2 separate regions of the Homo sapiens genome follow, and region 2 is linked to region 1. Evidence: promoter capture Hi-C in 16 types of primary human blood cells and fetal thymus (Javierre and others, 2016). All regions are on one chromosome and are shown on one strand. The core of a region is centred on a gene start or on the middle of the fragment in contact, and the rest is flanking DNA. Distances in the headings are between cores, read along the strand shown. Region 1 holds the start of TNP1 (transition protein 1). Region 2 has its middle 120 kb from the start of DIRC3-AS1.

Region 1 (3,729 bases), core at 798-3,297:
TGGTTAGAGAAGCAAAGACAAACAAAAGTCACATTTAGGAGGTAAAATATACACAACCATGGAGGATGAGGGTTATGAAGCATTTTCCCTATCCCTATCCTCCATTTAACAAAAAGGGAAACTGACAATGGAAAACTTTGAAGTATCTGTGTGCCTGATGGTAAGGAGAGATGTTTTTCACATGAACTTGAAAACAGCTCTGAATCAGCATGCTCATTCTTAGGGTTATGGAAGAGTGAGGACTTGAAATATTTTACCCCAACAAGTGAAATAACTTATCTGAAAAATGAACATGCTTTTTTTTATTGCATTTCTAGATTCTGACCCACAGGAACACCCCTTGCCACCCCTTATAGGACCAACATCCTGGTACCCACACATTTGCATGAGGCTCAGACTTAATAGTGTCCTCTTCCCATGTCTCACACCCCTGACTGCTGGAAACTTCGTGTCTAACCTCATGCCCCCTCATTCCTTCCTGCTTATACCCTTTCCTGGTTACTTCCCCAGAAACCACGTGGGTGGTTGGTTCTTGAGTTTAAATATGAGTCTCATTTCTACCCTGGAGCTACCTCTGAGGCAACAGGAAACAAGAAAAATACGATCCACCTCTGAGTGGGTGAATGTCATATCCTTGACCAGAGACATCATAAATTGTGTTACAACTCAGGGACAAGGTAAAGTGAGGGCTTAGGAATTTCCTAAATGAGCAGAACCAGCTCTATCCCTAAAGTCAGTTCTCTCTCTCTCTCTCTGTCAAATGATCAATACTCAGATTGAGACAATTCCTACTTCTAGGCACACTGGACTAAGGCTTATGGCATGCTACGAGGCAATATCCCACTCTTCAGTCTTGCCCACCTCAAGCCCAACATAGCTACCAAAATAACCTAAAGAAATCTAAACTCTCATCACTTCCACTGTTACCAATAGGATCCTTTACAAAGAACATGTTGGTCTCTGTTCAGAAGGTGTTCCCATCTCTTAGCCTGCTAATACTGCCCATATGATCAATGAATTAAGAGCTTCTAAGAGCTCCTCCAGGTGATCTCTATCTCCGGGCCAAGTCTTTAGATTTAGTTTAGCTTTCAACACCTCTATGCTATAAGCTCTGACGAAAACAGCTTGCATCCTTTGGTTTAAGCTCTAACAAAAACAGCTTGAATCCTTTGGTTAATGCTAATGAATGCATTTCTCCCTTTTTTATCTCTTCTCCCTTTCCATGTTGAGGAGAGAGACAGCACACTGGGATGAAGACAAATACGGCAATAGTGTGTGGCCAGAGTAGGACCACCTCCCACGGTGGTGGGAGGGAATTGGAGGACAAATTACTTTTGATATTTTCCAAGTCACATTTAATGGTTTCATACTGGCCAATTCTTCCCCAAACCCACCTAGCTCAGGAACTCAAGTCTTTCCAACCAAAAGATCAAAGTAAACATTTCTGCTTTCAAAGTTTTATTGAGATGTTGGGGAAAAACAGCCAACATATACATTCCTCATTTCGTCACAACTGGCATTTGATCCACATTCCATAGGCTCCTCTCTGGCTTTGATCTAACATCAGGTCTCCTTGGCAGTTCCCCTTCTGCTGTTCTTGTTGCTGCTTGGTGCTGTGTGAAGCGCACCAGGGCAGAGCCCGCTGGGGGCTCACAAGTGGGAGCGGTAATTGCGATTGGCTGTGGGAAAGGACAGGTTTGCAACAGAGACACGAATTAGAACATTCCCATCAAGACTCTTGTTGCTCAAATCTGCATTTAGTTATTGGAAATAATCTCAGGCCAAGATTTCAGGGTCCTGTGAGAGCTGCCTCCAAGAGGGAGGGCCTGGCAGCAATGTGTGCCTAAGTTTGGCAATCTCCTCCCCATCCCTCACTCACCGTCATCGCCCCGTTTCCTACTTTTCAGGTTGCCCTTACGGTATTTTCTTTTGCTGCCACCTCTCTTGACTCCCTTGTGAGGAGATCGGCTCTTGCTCCTCCTCATGCCATGACTCTTTAATTTGCGGCTGGTCGACATGGTAAGTTCTGCCAAAATGAGGGGCTTTGCAAGGCCCGGGGGCCAGGAGTCTGGGTATTTAAGGCCTTGGCCATTGTGACAGGGAAGGGGCATGGCTCAGCAGGTGGGCGGGGCTCTACTGTGCTGTCACTCACCTTTGCTGCACTTTGGTCACATTTGTGAAATAAGGTGGTCCTTTTCGTGCAGCTCAAGGGCTGCCCTCAGTTTTGAGGTCCTTTTTATGTTAAGTGAGGCTTTCCCAGAGAGGTGTTATTGAGAAACTGAATCCCAGCCCTGTGCCAGGCATTGGATGAGTACAAGAGACCATTCAGATATGCTTCTCCTGCCTGTAGGAAATGTAACAGTCATTGAGTGTGTGTGTATGCATGACTGTTTAAGTCTCTCACAGCATCCAGAGATAATAAATTTATTTCTGTAAGGACTTGACTCTACAGAACCCAATTCAATATGATCAAAATAGAAATATTCCTTCTTTTTCATCTAGGTCAGGATTTCTCAGTCTTGGCACTGTTGACACAATGGGCAGGGTAACTTTCAGTGGGCTGTCTTGTGCACCCTAGGATGTTTGGCAACATCCCTGGCCATTACCCACTGGACACCAGAGAAGCCTGGCAGCTATGACAACCCAAAATATTCCCAAACATTGCCACCTGTTTCTTTGGGAGGCTGGGGAAGTGAGGGAAAAAATGGCTCTGGTTCAGAACAATTAACCTAATCATTTTTTAAAATTCAGTCACAGATATTGATCACATAGCATATGCCATACATTTAGGTGGTAGAAAATTAGTGGAGGATAAACACACGTAGATACTGTGCTCATGGAACTCTCAGCCCACTGGGGAGAAAGCCATTCATCAGATGTCTACATAAATCAGTGAGTAAGTACTTACGGAGTCATTTTGGCTGGAGAAGGGCAGAGGGAAACTCCCTACATGGTACAGGATGAGGCTGGAGGGAGAGACAGAGATCAAACCATGATCAAGTACATTGGGAAGCCTTTAAAAATGTTAAGAGGATGGCATGTGAGATTAGAGGGTGCCAAGTGGGTGATGTATTGACTGGAGGAGCTGTGTAAAGGGAGATGCTACTGTCAACATCAATGGTTCAGCAGAGAGAAAGATTTGATGATGGTTTAGGTCTGGCCAGGAAAGGTGTTGATTGAGATCTAAAGTAGACAAGAGACCAAGGCTTGGTGACGGATTGAATTTGGGAGGTGAAAGCAGATGGTGTCAAGGGTGTGGCTTTTGTTTCTGTATAATGCAGTTATCTGGATGCTGGTGCCATTCATGGGGATAAAGGCCAGACATGGGGAGAGTGATGATCATGTACTTGGTATAAGACATACCAGCTTTGAAGTGCCTTTGACACTTACAAATAGATATATTGAATGATTATTGGTGTATAAGTCATCCAGCCTTTCCTTTTTCCTCCATTACACCTCATAGTAAATGCTTTGCTTTTGAAAATGTTTCTTTCTTTTTTTTTTTTTGAGACCGAGTCTTCTCTTTTGCTCAGGCTGGAGTGCAGTGGCACAATCTTGGTTCACTGCAACATCTGCCTCCTGTGTTCCAGCAATTCTCCTGCCTCAGCCTTCTGAGTAGCTGGGATTACAGGCGTGTGCCACCATGCCTAGCTAATTTTTGTATTTTTAGTACAGACAGCGTTTCGCCATGTTGGCCAGGCTAGTCTTGAACTCCTGATCTCAGGTGAT
Region 2 (3,729 bases), core at 339-2,838, 300 kb after region 1:
TGCCTGCTGATCCTCATCTTGCTAGAACCAAAAGATGAAAATAGAAGTCTCTTTGTGCTTCCTCCAGGCCTTTGTCTCTAAGGATGCTGGGGCACACTGGGACACAACATGGTGGGAAAAAGGAAAAGACAAAAATTCAGGTCTTTGATTCCAGTTTCCTCATTTATAAGCTCAGTGATTTTACCTCTCCGGGTTGAATCCTGAAAATCTCCGTTTTACTAAAGAGAAAAGAACCTCATCCAGGGATCACACGGGAGCATGTATTTTAAAGTGACTGGTTTTAGTTTTGAGGGCAGCTGCTATCTTATAGTGATTTCTTTAGTGTTCCCACTTTCCTTGTGCTGATTACAAACGGTGGTTCTCTCTTCTGAGAGGAGAGAGTAAAGGGTAGGTTTTGTTTTTACGCATTTCTTTCTATTTTATTTATTTATTTTTGCAGAGGTCATGGGTGAACAATTTTTTTAATGAAGGAAAATAAATGAATTAACGTGGTGACTTGTCCAGTTAAGCCAAAGAAGCCACACCAAGTGTTAGAGGACCACAGAGGAACCAGAGAGGATCTGGGTAAGATCTCACAGGAAGAGTAGCATCTGGGTTGGGTGTAGTGCATAGGAGTTTGGCAGGCAGAGGGTTATGATCATAATTACCATCCCCAGGAACCCCTAAGTATCCCCTGGCATTAAACCAGAGTGGTCTGAGGCCTTATGTTGTAAGTCCTTGGCACTCCAAACCTCAGATGAAACAAAAATTGATGGATGTGCTTTTTGAATAGTTCACTCAATCAGGTTAATTTTGACGTTTAAAGAAGCAGAAAACCACTGCTCAGCCAAGATCCTGCAGAACTTTCCTATTCTCCATCCTAAGCCCTTGGTGAAGTAGAACTCAAATTCCCTACATTTTTCTTTCTTTTATTTTTCCCCCCTCTTGTGAGGGATGATTACAAGTAAGGCCTCAAACCCAAAAAGGACTTGGAAACAAGTCCACGTGGTATTCAGTGAAGGAAATCTTTTGCTTTTATCCATGTAATTTAGGTGGTCTGGACAGCCAGTCTGGATACTCTAACTGCTGGCAAGATTCTGAAGGCCAAGGTTGTGTAGGTTGGTTCTCTATATAAACCGAAGAATTGAAAAACTGCCCCGTTCCTTTGGGCCATGTGTGTCCACCAGGCACTTATTGTGTGTGCACTTTCTGCCAGGCCACTGGCTAACTTTAAGGGCCTCCAGTGGGCCTAACGCCATGTGCAGTTCACCTGATCTGAGGCTGTGGCGGGCTGGTGTGGCTCAGTTATTCCCCACAAGCTGCCATCCCCTGGCTTAGACATAAAGCCTTAGCTCCATTAATCATCCTTTTCCTGGAGCATACTAGATGAGCTCCTGGCTGGGAGTAGAACTATCATGTTCATTTCCTAATTTTAAAAAGTGTGTGTTTGCTAACAGCTGGAAGGCAGGCTAGAAAGGCAGCTTCAAAGTCCCACTGTGGGGAAAATAATGCTAAGAAGATCCTGGGGCACTTTCTCTTGAACTCACCTCCCCTGTAGCACTGGGGACTGTCCTAGAAGATGAAGTCTGTGCTGGGGGTAGTGAGGGAGGGCCCAAGGCTTGCAAAGAGGATGGACACTGTCAATTTGGGCTGGGCTTAGCCATTAAAAGTAGATCTCTGAAAACAGAACTGGGGGAGTGAAGATGGAAGTTATGCTGTTAAGCTAATGAAAGAGTCAAGAAATAGAGAATATGGAGAAATCAGTGGCCAGAGCCCAGAAAAATAACAATTATGTGAAAAAAAAATGTCATTTAAAAGGTAGAAGCCAAGGAACTTGATGAAAACCAAGTCAAATAGCCAAGATATCTTTAACAGACTCAACATAGCTGACACTGAGAAGAACCTAAAAACTGAGGCAATGTTATAAATAGATCAATTCCAGAAAAAGCAAGACTCCTGGGGAGAAGGGTTGGGATGGAATCAGAACCAAAAGGTGAGAGCTCTCATTGTTCCACGAGGGAAGGACAGAGTCTCAGAGCAATGGCTGGGTCAAACGTGACAAGGATAATGGAAGTAAAATGATCAAAGTTAGAAAGGTTCTGACATAGTACAATAACAGAGGCCATGCAATGTAAACATATATCAAAACATCACATTTCAAGCTGGGTGCAGTGGTGCACTCCTGTATTCCCAATTACTCAGGAGGCTGAAGCAGGAGGATTGCTTGAGCCCAGAAATGAAAGTTCAGCCTGGGCAACATAGTGAGATCCCATCGAGAGAGAGAGAGAGAATCACTTTATACCTCATGAATATATAATATATATTTTATTTTTAAAAAGAAAATTTAAAAACAAATGCAGGTCATGGATCCAGAACTCAGAATGTAGGTAAATTAATAAGAAACTAGAAAGAAAAGACCATCTTTCTTAATGATTTCAACTGGCTCTGTAGGAAACCACCCAGGTGTTCATTGTCTCCAAAGAGCTAAACCTTGCCTCAGAAAAATGACCTTCTCCTATCTTTCCTGCTGCAGCAAGAACCTCTGGTTTAACCAATTAGGTAAGTCATTTATATGACACTCAATCTGAATTATTCTGTCTGTCTGTCTGTCTATCAATTTCTCTATCTGTCTATCATCTTTAGGGAAAAAGTATATCCCATGCACAGTTATGATAACAAAGGAGTCATCTTCTATACAATATTAAACATAACTATTGAAAAGTTAAAAACTCAAGCCTTCAGTTTAGGGTTTGATTTTCATGATCCAAAGCAGCATTCTTGACTGATTGTTTTTCCTTGTGTTGATTCATATTTGTCTGAGTGAATTTGATTGGCTGTTTTGGAATTGCGTAAGATACTTCTTCATTGACCCAAATAATCTGTTTGTTGATTTTATTCAGACTAACATATAACTTAATTGACTAAATTTTTGCCTTTCTCAAATGGTGTGGTGATTACATAGACTCAATCTGTATTTTTGAGAAGTTTTTAAGTATGCTTTCATTAGCCTGAGACTAGTGTTCCTGAAACCTTGTAAAGTACGGAGCACTTCAGGAGCAGAGAGAATGAATACCTTGGGTGATGCCCAGTGTAAATCTCATGGTCTGGAGGGAATCTTGTGGCCAATATGAGCCTCGTCAGATGTCAGGCTTTCCAAAAGTAGAAGTGGAAGGCTCCTGTTTTTCTAACTCCTGCTGTTCCCCTGACTATCACTATGTTGTCCATATTGTTTTCAGAACTCACAGCTTAAAGAACCACCTTGCTTTTCTTAGAACTTTGGGGGTGGACCTTACTCCTTTTTACTTTTTTTTTTTTTCAAATTGCATGTGGATTCTACTGTATTTAGCATAACTCAAGCTTAGCATTTGAACATGTTTCATAGCCAATAGCTTTGCACATCCTCCATGATTGCATACTGTGTTTCAGACACAGATGTAGGACATGCAACTGATGTGGCCATCACTAATGTCAATACTGACCCTTGCTCTGTGCTTTGGGCCCTAAGTAGAGCTAGGTCCATGTAGTAGTCTAGTGCCCTCTTGTGGCTTTCAAACTAAGAGTCTTGAGCTATTTTGTAGAATTAGAGCTATTTGTAGAATCACGAGTTTGAGAAGACCACTGTGAAGTTACGTCCTGCCTTCTCTCCCTTAGTAACACTACCCACCTCCTGCAAAGCACAGTCAGTGATGGGAGACATGTTCTACTCTGAGCTAAGAAAAACACTTTGGAATGTGGAGATCAGGGTACTGG

Evidence for each region. The method cuts DNA at HindIII sites, captures the fragments that hold promoters and counts their contacts. A CHiCAGO score of 5 or more calls a contact.
Region 2: a fragment that was not itself captured here is called in contact with the fragment with the promoter of TNP1 in region 1 in 1 of 17 cell types (megakaryocytes); the score reaches 6.0 in megakaryocytes.

The regions. Positions count from the first base shown.
Region 1 is chr2:216,858,017-216,861,745 of GRCh38, forward strand. It overlaps TNP1 (transition protein 1), which reads right to left and starts at 2,048. Exons shown (of 2, transcript NM_003284.4): 1 at 1,880-2,048; 2 at 1,442-1,679. The coding sequence starts at 2,018. The coding sequence ends at 1,651. LOC124906118 (a long non-coding RNA gene) reads right to left here. Exons shown (of 3, transcript XR_007088082.1): 2 at 2,909-2,966; 3 at 2,238-2,344. The HindIII fragment of the contact is 13,346 bases long and covers 1-3,729 here.
Region 2 is chr2:217,162,917-217,166,645 of GRCh38, forward strand. No RefSeq gene overlaps it. Among named protein-coding and RNA genes, the nearest start is that of DIRC3-AS1, 120 kb to the right of the region's middle. The HindIII fragment of the contact is 3,492 bases long and covers 1-3,334 here.